Regions from separate parts of the Homo sapiens genome. Here all the other regions are linked to region 1. Evidence: promoter capture Hi-C in human tissues and cell types (Jung and others, 2019). All regions are on one chromosome and are shown on one strand. Each heading gives the region's core, a stretch centred on a gene start or on the middle of the fragment in contact. The rest is flanking DNA. Distances are from core to core; before and after follow the strand shown.

The links. The method cuts DNA at HindIII sites, captures the fragments that hold promoters and counts their contacts. A contact is called where the count stands out against the background at its distance.
Region 2: a fragment that was not itself captured here is called in contact with the fragment with the promoter of C4orf46 in region 1 in 1 of the 25 tissues and cell types used here (dorsolateral prefrontal cortex).
Region 3: a fragment that was not itself captured here is called in contact with the fragment with the promoter of C4orf46 in region 1 in 1 of the 25 tissues and cell types used here (mesendoderm cells).
Region 4: a fragment that was not itself captured here is called in contact with the fragment with the promoter of C4orf46 in region 1 in 1 of the 25 tissues and cell types used here (stomach).
Region 5: a contact is called between a fragment that was not itself captured here and the fragment with the promoter of C4orf46 in region 1, in 1 of the 25 tissues and cell types used here (mesendoderm cells).

The regions. Positions count from the first base shown.
Region 1 is chr4:158,670,509-158,673,202 of GRCh38, reverse strand. It overlaps C4orf46 (chromosome 4 open reading frame 46), which reads left to right and starts at 1,316. Exons shown (of 2, transcript NM_001008393.4): 1 at 1,316-1,587. The coding sequence starts at 1,402. ETFDH (electron transfer flavoprotein dehydrogenase) reads right to left here and starts at 907. Exons shown (of 13, transcript NM_004453.4): 1 at 713-907. The coding sequence starts at 746. RefSeq lists enhancers at 559-1,060, 662-1,221, 1,064-1,700, 1,701-2,337 and a silencer at 1,642-1,711. The HindIII fragment of the contact is 11,975 bases long and covers 1-2,694 here.
Region 2 is chr4:158,181,451-158,184,144 of GRCh38, reverse strand. All of the region lies in intron 2 of GASK1B-AS1 (GASK1B antisense RNA 1), which reads right to left. LOC101928007 (a long non-coding RNA gene) reads left to right here and starts at 1,920. Exons shown (of 4, transcript XR_007058350.1): 1 at 1,920-2,079. It also overlaps the pseudogene NUDT19P5. The HindIII fragment of the contact is 4,910 bases long and covers 1-2,694 here.
Region 3 is chr4:158,241,554-158,244,247 of GRCh38, reverse strand. It overlaps TMEM144 (transmembrane protein 144), which reads right to left. Exons shown (of 13, transcript NM_018342.5): 11 at 2,642-2,694. Among named protein-coding and RNA genes, the nearest start is that of TMEM144, 32 kb to the right of the region's middle. The HindIII fragment of the contact is 5,294 bases long and covers 1-2,694 here.
Region 4 is chr4:158,259,003-158,261,696 of GRCh38, reverse strand. No RefSeq gene overlaps it. Among named protein-coding and RNA genes, the nearest start is that of TMEM144, 50 kb to the right of the region's middle. The HindIII fragment of the contact is 6,186 bases long and covers 1-2,694 here.
Region 5 is chr4:159,031,931-159,034,624 of GRCh38, reverse strand. The region is part of intron 1 of SPMIP2 (sperm microtubule inner protein 2); the gene reads left to right. Among named protein-coding and RNA genes, the nearest start is that of SPMIP2, 2.0 kb to the left of the region's middle. The HindIII fragment of the contact is 4,562 bases long and covers 1-2,694 here.

The DNA of each region.
Region 1 (2,694 bases), core at 67-2,566:
CCTCCTGAGTAGCTGGGATTACAGGAGTGGGCCACAACGCCCAGCTAATTTTTGTATTTTTAGTAGAGATGGGGTTTCACAATGTTGGCCAGGCTGGTCTTGAACTCCTGACCTCAGGTGATCCATCCGCCTCAGCCTCCCAGAGTGCTGGGATTACAGGCTTGAGCCACCACGCCCAGCCCTTAATTTTAGACAACGCAGAAAAACTGGCTCCAGATACACTTGGGTGACTTGGTCAACATATGAATGTTAACCATGATGTGACAGATCAGACTTCAATTTCTTTAGACTGAACTAGAATGGCTCCGAAGACGAAAGTCAGGTCAGGACCAGGGAGAAAAACTGGGCAAATACGATTTTTTTTTTTCCATTTCCAACAGAGGTTTGAAGATTAGAACCAGGATTTGGGAAGCCTCAGTTCAGGAGTCCACCGAGGTGTGTGTGTGTTGACAGGTGGTGGTGATGCCGAGGGCGTGTTGACAAGTTTTCCCCGCCCTTGACCTTTAGCCTAGATATTAATTCTACCAACTGGGGCAACCCCAGAGGGAGGAAGCCAGGGTCCCCCAACAGGCTGACAGCGCGTGACCTTTGCCCTAGATAGCCTGAGAAAGCTGATGAGAGAAGGGGCGAGAGGTGCCTACAGCCCCCAGGACCGGCCTTGTCCCTTTTGCCCTAACTCCTCCACTTATCCCCACCGCCCGTTTCCTCTCACCCAGGCAGGACAGCTTGGCTAGCGGCACCAGCATGTTCAAAGTCACCAGGACTCTCGGTCGGACACAACAGGAGGACTGTCCGCTGCTCGCGGCGGGCGCTGGACCTCTAGGCCGCGGGGGGCGCCATCACCTGCCGGAAAGCAAGAACTCTGCTGCAGTTCGCCTCCCCGCTCTGCCGACCGCTCTTGCTTCACGGCGTTCCCACCTCCTTCTCGCTCTGCGCCGGCGCCATGGATGACGCAACGGCCAGCCGAGGCTTCCGGGTCATGTACCAAACCAGGGAAAGATAAGGGACTCCAAGTCCCAGCCGGGGAGCGGTGAAACAGCCACAGCGCGGCCAGAGGGGTCCGCGAATCCCACAGCACGACGCACGCGCAGTGAAAGGCAGTAGAAGGCGGGGCGACGCACACGGCTTCCTGGGAGGTGTAGTTTTCTCTACGAGTGCCCTTCGAGATCGATTGGAGGCTCGCGCAGGAGCCGTGAGTTGCCTAAGGTGAATTGACTCATATGATTGGCTGTCCCGAAAAATGAAACGTCTTTGTGGTCCGGGGCTGAGACCCACGAGGAGACTGGGCGGGATTTCTGGCGTTAGGAGGCGGGGCCTTTCGGCTTTGGGCGCGAGTGGTTAAAAGACAGTTGGTGTCGGTTCGGCTTCTCGGGTCGGATTCCGCGGTCCCAACCCTTCCCCATGGCCGACCCTGAGGAGTTGCAGGTTTCTTCGCCGCCCCCGCCGCCTCCCTCTTCTCCCTCCTCTTCAGACGCCTCTGCAGCATCTTCCCCGGGCGGCCCAGTGAGTTTGGGCTGGCCAGTTCCGAGCAGGAGCAGCGGCCCAACGGTGGACCAGCTGGAGGAAGTGGAGCTGCAGATCGGAGACGTGAGTGTGGTGTCGGGACCGCGTCCCCCCTCGGCGCCTCTGGGAAGACCGGCGGCGGCGGGGCTCGCGAGGCTAGGGAATCGGTCCCCCAACCCCCATGACCCGGGACGACCGGCCCTTCTGCGCCCCAGAGCGTGCGGGCGGGAAGCGGGGGGGATGCCAGCAGCTAAAGTGCCACCCCTCTCTGAGGGTTCCCCCTTTAGATTTAGTGGTGAGGAGTCTTAAGGGGTTTTCCTTCCACCCGCCCCACCCCTCACTGGTTTCTTTTTGTCTCGCCTTCTGGTTTCAATCATCCGCAGTAACCCGAAGCCACGCAGCTCTGCGCTGCCTGTTGCTGGCTCTCTGCCTCCTCCTTTCCCATCGGAGAATAGTTTTCATTGCATGGGTTTCGGAGAATAGTTTTCACTGCATGAGTTTGCTGGCTTTCTGTGGGTACTTGAGATCAGGCTGTGATTTCTTTCCATGGGACTTAGAGCCTGCTGTTCTAGTTGGCCACCTGCCCAGGGACAGCTGATAATGCCATTGTCTGCCCCAGGCCTGCTTAGCGCTGGACCCAGCTTGAAGGGTTTAGGTCACGTGGATTGGCTTCTTTGACGGTTTAGTTCAGGACTCCTCCCTTTGTATGATTGCTAGAATGCATACTTAGGATAGTTTCTGTTAAATCTCGAATCCCCAGAAACTAGCACCCCACCTCCCAACCGTAACTCACACACCACTGGAGGGGAGAAGACAGGGAAGGGGAGTTTTATGTTCTCTTGAGTGGGTCAAGTGGAATGAGGTATGTAGAGTGTAACCTGGGAGAGTTCTGTGGCCTGACCTTTCCTGCAGATTGGAAACTAGGGGATGAACTAGATTATCTCATTGCTCCGCAAGTATTTTTTTTTAAGGATGACTAGAGTGCTTAACCAGCTTTTATTTTTGCAGAACAAACTGATTGCAAGTAAATATGTAGAATGAAGTGCTAATGTGTTATTGAGGAACACTGTTTTATTTTATATCATTGGTGAAGAAAACGTTTGGCTGAAAAGTGAATTTTCCACCAGGAGCTGAGTGTTTTCTGCATTTGTGTGTGATTTTTTAATGTTATTTGTCAGAGCTCAGAGTTTC
Region 2 (2,694 bases), core at 90-2,589, 490 kb after region 1:
TCAATAAACATTATTCCTCTTTAGAGGAGGTAAAAAAACCCATATAAAATATACTGAAAATAAATTTCATTAAACATTAAATGATGAATAGTTCTAAATCTATCTTCTTTGCATTCATTAACTAGCACTTCAGAGCAAAAATAATGGTAGCTTTTGTTATGGCTTCATATTTCTTTAAAATATTGACTTAAAATAGATTTTCAATCTGGGGAATAGATAAGAACTAATGCCATTTGGTTTTAAATAGAATTGTGTTGTAATCCTCAAGCTAAAGGCATAGCAAAAAAAAAAAAAATGACAACATCACTGGAAATTTGCCTCAGTCTACTTACTGTTCACCATTTAATTAGACACTTTTTAATTCTGGCAGAAAGTCTAAGGAATTCATGGATCCACCTTCTAAGCACATCAAGGAGTGTTAATACACTGGACAGTTAGAACAATGGCAGCAGAACATCTTATTTAAACTCTTGACATAATAAAATAATTTTTTCTTGTTTTGGTAATAATATCATTAATACTTTACAGTTGTGGCATACTACAATGTTAAAGATTCAATTAAGCAAGAGAGCACCATAATACACTTTAAATAAGACTGCTATAACTTTCACAGGCACGGTTTCAAACAAGACTAGTCAACCCTCATTATTCATTAGGACTACTTCATATAAGTCAGCTTACCAATAAGTAGCATTTTACAAAAGCCTCTTATCTACTGACTTACCATATAGGTCTTAGGAAAAATGTTTTATTTTTGAATAGTTATATGGATACTATAAAGATGGTGACTGTTTATCACTATGTTGTGAAATTTCTTGCCTTCCTTCAATTTTTTTTTTAAGTGGAGAAATGATTTTCTAAAAAGTCTGAGTCTTCTAAGCATAGCTCATCTCCTGGTAAAAATTGCAGTGCTCCATTAGTTAATAATGCCATCGCAAGCCGTCCTTTTCTCTCTTCTAATGTACCATACAAACAAAATTTGTGCAAGTCAAAGAGCAGGGCAAAGTTTTCATACTTCATAGAGCTTTAAGTAAGTTTATTTCATAGAACTGTGGGAGTGCCAGCCAAAGAGCTTCCAGTATGAAACTTTCAGTTGCCTTTATGGAGATGGCCACTGGCAGCCTACCACCTTGGTCATGCTCCCGTGGGCAGGCAGGGAGAAGGCAGCTTGCGCAGACAGCACAGAAAAAAGGCCTTTGGATAGAGGCGACTTCCCAGGCTCGTGAGCTGCAAGAGCCAGGCGCTCCAGTAGCACAGAGCCCGGAAATCGGGCACGCAGTCGGAGCGTGCGTGCAGGCACAGGAAGTGACGCAGAGTTGATGCGTCAGGCTTAGGCTCAGACTGCAGTGACAGCAGCTGCGTTCAGGTCTTCTCGAGTTCCTGAAGGATGGAGCCTGGGTTTTTTTTTTTTTTTTTTAATTTATTTCTAAATTTCCCCCCTTTTCCCTCTGTGTTGGTCATTTGCTGTTGTTATTTTTGACATGTTTTATAATTTTCAGTCGGTTTTCAGAATATAGATAGCATACTGTACATTCTCTATATGATGTTCCCACGAAAGTGCTGTTTTTATTTTTTAGTTATAAAGCACTTCAGTGAATGACTTTGATCCAGTTGAGACTTAGTTTTAAGCTTTGTTATACTTGACCTTTTTAATTTGCTACTTACAGGATGTGACCATTAATCTTAGAAAGTAGCTTTGCCCAAGTCCTGGACCTAGGTTTAGCACGCTCCCTCTGGATTTAATTCTAATCTCTAACTCCTCAGTGCCATTCAGCTGCTGAAATCTCTGCTCAGCATTCAAGCTTTCTGTTTGCTGTTTCCCACTACATATCTTGAAGGCTTGCCTTGTACATGCACAAGTCAGAAATTTACCCACAATTTGAGGGAAATTAGGATGCAGATTTGGGGACACTCTCTTAGCTTCCTGTCTTTTTCAATAGTTTGCTCCTCAAATCACAGCTCCTTTGGCGTCCTGAAACGCCAGACTTTGTCTCCTCTGACGTGTGAAACTCCTGCTTTCTTCTTGGGCTCTTTTCGCCTTCACCACAACTTGGAAAATGCCCCCAGGAAAATTCCGAGGTGAATGTTGAATACATCTTGTGTGCTTCCCTTTCTCAAGGATTTTAGCTGCTCAATATTACTTGCACTGGCTCTCCAATGCCTTCAGAAGATTGTTTATATATATATATTTTTCCAATTTTTAAACTTATTTTTGGTAGGAGGTTTAGTTAAATGTAAGCTACACTGTTGACTCCAGGGCCCAACATTTTATCCAGTGAATTTTAATTTGAACAGTTTTATCATTTCTAAATGTTATTTTAAGATTTCTTTTTAATGTGTACCCAATCATTTTTAAAACCTTTTGTTGCATGTTCCCTTTGTCTTCCTTTAAACAGTTTATATTTATCTATCTATATTTATGTTTGGATTCAAATAATTCCAAAAATTCTCTCTCTCTTTGTGTTTTTTTTTTCTTTGTATGCTTGTGATTTCTAATATTAACCGCAGATACCTTGATGTCATTTATGGAAGTTTTAAATTTCAGAATCTTTCATTTTTAGGAAATTTGTAAACAATGGATTATATGCATTTTTTCCTTATTTATTCTGGGTCTAGGTTTTAGGTAAGATGGCCTTTGAGAGTTTCCAGCCTGACAATATATACTGCTTGAAACAGAAAGTTATACATTTTAAT
Region 3 (2,694 bases), core at 73-2,572, 430 kb after region 1:
TAGATTCTATATAAATATAGTAAGTTAGAGACAGTATAAACATATTTTCAGGGAAAACTACCCATAATATCAACCCTAACTCCACACTAAGCTAAACTTTAGGTGATATTAAGTAAAAAAAATGAAGACTTTTTTTCATTTTCTTTTCTTCATGGTCTTCATTTTGATTATTTTGATGATGCTATAATATTTTGTGCCACATAATACTTTAATATATCTGACATAAATTATTTTTATAAGCACATAGCTTATTTTTTCCATTGGCCTAGTTCCTTAGGATACTAGAAATGGGATTAATAAGAAAAAGTGTGCACAAGCTTCTAACTTTCTTTGGCATGAGATAATCTTGTAACTGAAGAAATTTTGGCATATTCTTTTTGGCCTAACAAATAATGTACTTGTGGAAGTAGCTCGTGCTTTAAAAATTTTTTTAACTGATATTACTACAGAGCAATCAAGTCTGGCTAACATTAAACACCAATGAATGCTAAAAAAAGGTTTATGGGAAGATTAAAATAAACGTGTAAGGAAAAACAATAGGGGTTTCTGGGCAGGAGACAAAGAAAAGAATGAAATAATACAGGACAGAGGAAATGAGAAGAAACAGGTGAAAAAAAGGAATGGTTCTGCAATTTATAAACTTTAAGCTATTCAAGTTTGGTGGTAATTCTTCTTAGCTGAGAAGGAAGAAAATTGGAATGCGGGCTAGGTGTGGTCTTTGTGGAGAAGGTGTATTGTATCAGCATTTTTATGATTGCTCTTCAAACTCCGAGAAACTCTGGAAGAGTTTCAAATAGATTCCAAAATGTTTTTCCCCTACCACTACTCCAACTGACAAAAGGACTGAGTCAATGAAGTTTGATTCCACTCTTGGTATGTAAGTGAAACAAAAAAAATACACTCCTCTCTGTTTATCAGTATCTGGAAAGTCAACATCAAAAGAGCCAGAGAAATAGGTCAAAGGAACTGCCTTTTATCAATGATGTAAGTTCCTAAGCCTCAAAATCCAAATCAAACAAGAAGCATATGGGTCTTTTAGGCAACCCACACTGACTTTCAACAGAATGAGAGGAAACAATAGAACAGAGGATACCATATTAATGTTATGCTAATCACTCAAGAATTTTTAATCTGAAAATCCATTTCCCTTCAGAGAACATGGTACAGGACAATACCACAAGGTATCATTGACCTTTGAAGATTCTTGTCTGATTGTTTTCTAAATATGAGTTTAAGCATGGCCTAAGAGTTATCGTGAGTAGTGTGGTTACAGGAAGGGTGCTTTGGTAAAAGTAATGCAAGCATAGGTCAAAGTATGTACTGACTCTTTGATTCAGGCCAAGGAGAGCCAAATAGGAAGGACATCTTCATAGGAGATACAACAGTTTTGGTAATTTGGATTGTATATTTTCCTTTTGTAAACTAATGTAAGTTAGGTGTAAATCAGCCTTTGAAAACAAAGTGAACTCGCTCCTATCTTAAGATTAAGCTGATTCAGTTTAGAATTATCAAGGAAGACATGGAGCAGAGGTAACAGCCCCTGCTAGGTGACTTTTTTCTTTCTTTCTTTCTTTTTTTTTAGCTTTTTAATGGAATGTTATTTGCTAATAAACAAAGTGGATACTACTTTCAAGGAACTCAGTCTAGTTACCACTGGATATATAACTATGGGAATATGTATACCTGAGAAGAACAGCACTGCTGGGATATTTAAAATGTATTCTGATAAAATTGATTGACCATATTCATAATTGTTGAAACTAGGTGATAGGTTCGTTTGACATTTTAAGTTTAAAAAAGTTTTAAAAATCTAGCCCTACCAAAAAAATAAAATAATGAAGAATGTAAGATTGTTGAGGGTAGGGACTAACTCTTCTGTGTGTAGATAAGGTTGTCCTTGGATAAAGTGACTAAAATAAAACCAAGCAAGGGCCTGGTAGCAATAGGGACCTACTCCCTCACCAATTCCAAATACCTGTCCTTCCCAGATAACAAGCACCAAGCGCACAAGGTAAGAAAGTTATGCCTGGTGAGTGAGAAGGCTTTGCTTCCATTACAGTTTTTCAAGAATAATCTCTGTGATGGGCAGGTTGCCAAAAGCCACAGTGACCACTTTCACTGATCCTCTGCCCACACTCACCTACTTCAGTGGTTTATTTCCTTTGAATTAGGCTTTCATTTTGTCCTCAGTCTTTATTCTAACTCAAAACAAGAAACAATGGTAGAAAAACCAACTCTCTGTCTACTATAAAAGTTTTGTGAAGGATATTGTTTGTTTGTTTTTCAATGTTCCCTTTAAGAGGTCCCATATTTATAAACTTTTATATAAGGAGAGAATAATAGTTATCAATAGCAAATTACAATGTCGCTAAAATTACATTAGATAAACCAATCAAACCAAAAACTGCAAGGATATTAAAGATTAAGGAGTAACAGCCCTGCTAAAATGAGGTGAGAAATGTTCCTTAGCAATCAAGCACATGAAGATTCAAGAGGGTCAGTTTATCTATCTGAATCCATTAATTGTATTCCTAAAAAATCAAACTCCATGACAGTCTTTAGCGATGCCCTAAGAGTGCTTCAGAAAAATTGGGTTTACATTTATAAAATGAAAATTAGGAAAACCAGTTCAGCTACTTACAGCAGTGATTATTGGAAAACTGACCACAGCACTCAGAGAGTGATTTGCTATGA
Region 4 (2,694 bases), core at 110-2,609, 410 kb after region 1:
TTAGGCCCTGCTGGATTTCCCATAGCCTTTTCTGAAAAGTTTGCCTGAATGAATAGTAAGTCAAACAGCGGGGGCTGCAGAACCCAGGAAAATCACATAAAGGTTAAGGAAAATGACATTTTCTTCCTTTTATTTATGATCTTGAATCATCTTTTCAGGAGGTAAATCAGTCTTACAAAGCATCGAAGATAAGCAATGATTAGGTATTTAGAATTTTTGCAATAGCCATAGAAAAGGTACATATTTACATAAAATAGTACAGCATGTAGAGTCTTTGGTGTTTGCAAAAAAAATCCCTCATATGAAAGTGTCCAATACCAAGTTGCTTTCCCATCTCTCTACTCCTCATAAAATACACAAAATATATTAAAATATATTGTGAGATTTAGTTTTATATATTTCCTGACCTCATATTTAGTATGTCACATTCCCATATTAAAGTTGATGATTTTATTACCAATACAGCACATACATAATATTTGAATTTCAGACTTGAGATCCTCAATAAGAAGCATCATGAGTAAGATGATGTAAGTGAGGTGACAGGATTCTAAATGACCTTTAGTGTGTAAATAGAGAGAAATAAAAATTCTGCAAAATATCTCAGCTTATGATTTGAGCATGTTAGACATGTCCAATTTTCCTATTTTTGTGGAATTTGTCTCATAGTGATTTTCCATTAGGCATTTCAGAGCTGAAATAAACAACAGGCTCATGTGCTATCCCACTTTATGTCAAACTTTTACCGTAGTGAAACATCATTCTGTGCTCAGGAAATAGGAACGCATCTTCCTCAATTCAGTCTACAAGTGATGGCAAATGCTGTAAGAATCCATATTCAGTGAACATCCAATTACAACAAATGATTGACATAGTAGGCTATTGAGAAAACATTTCTGCCTCGTGCTTGCAAAAAGTCTTCAAAAATAACAGGGCAAATAGTTCCAGGTCTCTGTGACCTAAAAAGTCTAACGAAGCCAAAGAATTACTAGAGCATCTTAGAGAAACCTGAGGCCATTCAGCCTAATCATTTAGTGATGATGTCTTTGTTTTTAGGTCAGAGAAAAATGTGCCTTCTAGCTTAATATTTATTCAGCAGCACTCATTAATGTTGGTAGCACTGGCTGTGAGCCTTCTTCTACGTCCTGAATATTCTAGGGCAAGAACAGACTCTTCTGTTTAAATAAGTCTAAAAATTGAATTGTTTTGTGATGTCTTCAACTTCTAGGAAATTATAAAAGCCAAATATAATAATAAAGCAAAAGAGTGATGAAAACTCGATGACTGAAAAGCAGACATCACATTGACAATTAGACTGATAGCATGGGAAATAGAAGATAGGTTTCTTTTTTTATAGTTCAGCTTTTAAGAATCTATAAATGGCAAAATATGGTCATTTGAGAGCAGAGATACAGGAGAGAGAGAAGAAGGGAAGGAGGGAAGGAGAGGGAGAGACAGAGCCCAAACTTAAAAAAAGTTTACATTTTATAACATAGACCACCACAGACTATCATAATTAACCCTATACTTCCCTCTGGTGGTCAAATTTGAAAATGTATTTACAGATGAATTAAATGAAGATTAATATACAGTAATAACTAAAGGTAAGACAACCAGATACCTCATTTTGTGTGAAGATTCCATTTTAACCAACTACCTAACTCCAACATTTCCCCTAGTTATTAAAGTTGAATGACTCTTCTGTGGAGAGGTCCCAATTCGCATAAACTTTCCTAACATGTGGCAGGGACTATACATAGCAAGTTGTATTTCATGGTACTAATTATATACGTAGGATGTGGATATTCATTTATGCTATAATTTATGCAAAAATAATAGGAAAGAATATTTTCCTGGATTTCTTAAACTACTTAAATTTTAAGAAAGTAGTCTATGAATTATTTCATGATGTATTGTGTCATGCACTTTAAAATAAAAATTTTAGGAACACAGAGACATACATTATTAAGATTAAGATTCTAAAATCAGAATATCAGATTTTAGAATCTTAATCCAGCAACCAAACCTGGTGTTTTTGGGTGGTTACTGTTTGTGAATGTCAGATACATCTTACAGGTACTGATATTTTTTTTTTTCCTTAAGGGAGCAATGTATAATTCATTACAGCTTTAATAAATTTAATATTTTAAATTTCAAAATTACTTAGAATATTAATTTTTCTATTTAGAGAAAAACTAAAGCCTGCACCAACATGTTTTCCTTGGCTGCTTAGTTTTAATGTCATCCCTGATAATTTCATATGGGAGCCAATATAATTTATTTTTGTGAATGTACTCCTTGAGCCTCAAAGAAAAAAAACAAGAAAAAAAGAAAAACCTAAGTAATTTTATTTGGCTCCTTTTTTTATTCTAACTGTAAAATACTCTTTGAACCGAGGAAGATGTGACAGGAATTACAAGTTTTACCTTTGTTCTTTCTGACAACTAAAGAGTATTTAAAAGGGTTTCCCATTAAACTTTTTAAGTTTTATCCACTGTATTAATTGGATGTGAGCTATTATGAAAATGATTACAGAGTGAAAGTGTAAATTGTCTTGAATTTGAATGTCTTTTAATTAAGCAGTTTCTCAAACTGCTTCTTTCAGTGTGAAACCTAAATAGGAGACACAAGATAATTTTAGCACCAAATGAGGCCTTTAGGATTTAGCTTACTTGCATTCATTCAGTAAATATT
Region 5 (2,694 bases), core at 55-2,554, 360 kb before region 1:
GCCACCATGCCCAACCCACCTACATTTAATTTACATGATACTGCTATCTCATTATGCCCACTCAGTCTGATCATCATCATCTTGTTGCCATAAACATGTCTTTAACACAGCAGTTGTCACTATATCTGAGGTAACTTTCACAAAGGAATATTTGAATTAGCATAGCTTTTATGGTTTGTGCAAGAGAAACTTCTTTGATGTAATAAAAAACATACTTTTCATCGAATTTTTATTAACACTGATTTAAGCTTCTCATAACATTATAAACTTGACATATTTGCTTGATAAAAATTTGAGCAGGATATGCATTAAACCTAGTAAAGTGATTGGTTTGAGTTTTGTTCATTCAGCTTACTTTAAATGATTTGGGCAGTGTGTGTGAAATTATAATAATATCTAAAAAATAGAAGATGACTAGTTGTGGTAAGTCTATAAGGCATAAACTAAACTTCATTTTATTTCCTTTTTTTCCAAATTATTTATTTTTTGAGACAGAGTCTCGCCCTGTTGCCCAGACTAGGGTGCAATGGCACGATCTGGGCTCTCTGCACCCTCCACCTCCCAGGTTCAAGTGTTTCTCCTGCCTCAGTCTCCCGAGTAGCTAGGACTATAGGCACATGCCACCACATGTGGTTGTTTATTTATTTATTTATTTTGTACTTTTAGTAGAAATGGGGTTTCACCATGTTGGCTAGGCTGGTCTCGAACTCCTGACCTCAAGTGATCCACCCACCTGTGTCGGGATTCCAGGCGTGAACCTGGCCTTTTTTTCTTTTTTTCCAAAGTGTGAGCATATTTTACAATGTTACAGAAAAATAATCAAATGCATATTTATGGTGGGCATTTATGATTTGTGTTGCTCATCATCCATCTCATCCACTCCCCTTCTTGTGACTCACTTGGCTTTGGGAAAAACATCTCTTTCCTCACTCTTACCTCTTTTTTACTCCTGTGAGAAGGACTTTGTCAACAAGAGTACACTGCTTATCTGCAATTCCTTTTGCCTTTATTCTTATAAACTCTATTCATTTCCAAAGTTACTTAAGTCTGCACATTTTCTTTCTAGCCTCTTCAGTAAGGTTGTTTTATGCACTTGTAATACAGTTAGATTTTCTTGTCACAGTCTGAATTCCTTCCTGAAATCCTACAATCTCGTAAATAATTTTTTTTAATTTGCATCCATTAAGGTTTGCTTTTTATGCTATTAAATATATGGGGGTCTTGACAAATTAATAGGACCATGTATTCACCATTATAGTACCATACGTTATGGTTTCACCACTTAAAAAATCTCTTGTGCTTCACCTATTCATTCCCCCCTCCCCCTTTCCCCCTAGCTCCTGGCAACCACTGATCTTTTCACTGTCTCCACAGTTTTGCCTTTTCTTGAATGTCACAGAGCTGGAGTTATACAGTATGTAGTCTTTTCAGATTGGCTTCATTTCCTCATCAATATCATTTTAAGGCTTCTCCACATCTTTTCATGGTTTGATAGCTTATTTCTTTTTACCACTGAATAATATTTCACTGTGTGGATGTGTCACAATTTGTTCATCCCTTCCCCTATCGAAAGACATCTTGGTGGCTTCCAGTTTTTGGCAATTGTGAGAAATGCTTCTATGTACATTTATGTGCAGCCTTTTGCATGGATATGTTTTCAAATCAATTTGGTAAATACCTAGGAGAGTAATTGCTGGATCCTGTGTTAAGCCAAACTGTCTTCTAAACTAGCTATACTATTTTGCATGTCCATCAGCAATGAATGAGAGTCCTTGTTGCTTTGTGTCCTTGTCAGCCTTTGGTATTGTCTGTTTTTGACTTTTTTACCAAAAAAAAAAAAAAAGAAAGGTCATTTAGATTTTTATCCTGTGTTTTCTTTTAGACATTTTACAATGTTACGTTTTCATTTAGGTCTATAATCTATTTTGAAGAGATTTTTGTGCCTTTTAAAGTTTTAATTTTCATCAGCCAATAAATCTCCTCTTTTCCTTAGCCAGTTTGGGTTGGGTTTTCTGTCATTTGGAACTGTGCAAGAGTCTTAATTAACACTTAAAATTTCTTCTAACTTACACCAGTGTATATACTTAGTTTTATGTATTTACATAGTTCAAATTGTTGTCACCTTTGATAGATTTCTGCCTTTCATTATACTGACATATAATACTTAGCTTCACAGCCTCCTGTATTTTATAATTTCCTAATTTTTACTGTTACAAATTTGTATGAATACTTTGCATAAATTATTTTTCTTGTTCTCTTATTTTCATGTGGTATATATAGAGAGAGCAGAATTAGCAGGTGAAAGATACAAACAGATATATAACTTATTAATGCCACAAGCTTTAGAGAATTGTATATACTATGAACAATGTATACGTATTTAAAGCCCAACAATTTTTTTTTTTGAGACAGTCTCCCTCTGTTGCTCAGGCTGGAGTGCAGTGGTATGATCTCAGCTCACTGCAGTCTCTCCCTCCAGGGTTCAAGTGATTCTCGTGCCTCAGCCTCCTAAGTAGCTGGAATTACAGACGTGAGCCACCATGCCCACTAATTTTTTGTATTTTTAGTAGAGATGGGGTTTCACCATGTTGGCCAGGCTGGTCTCAAACTCCTGACCTCCGGTGATCTGCCCGCCTCAGCCTCCCAAAGTGCTGGGATTACAGGCATGAGCCACCACAACCGGCCCCCATCAAT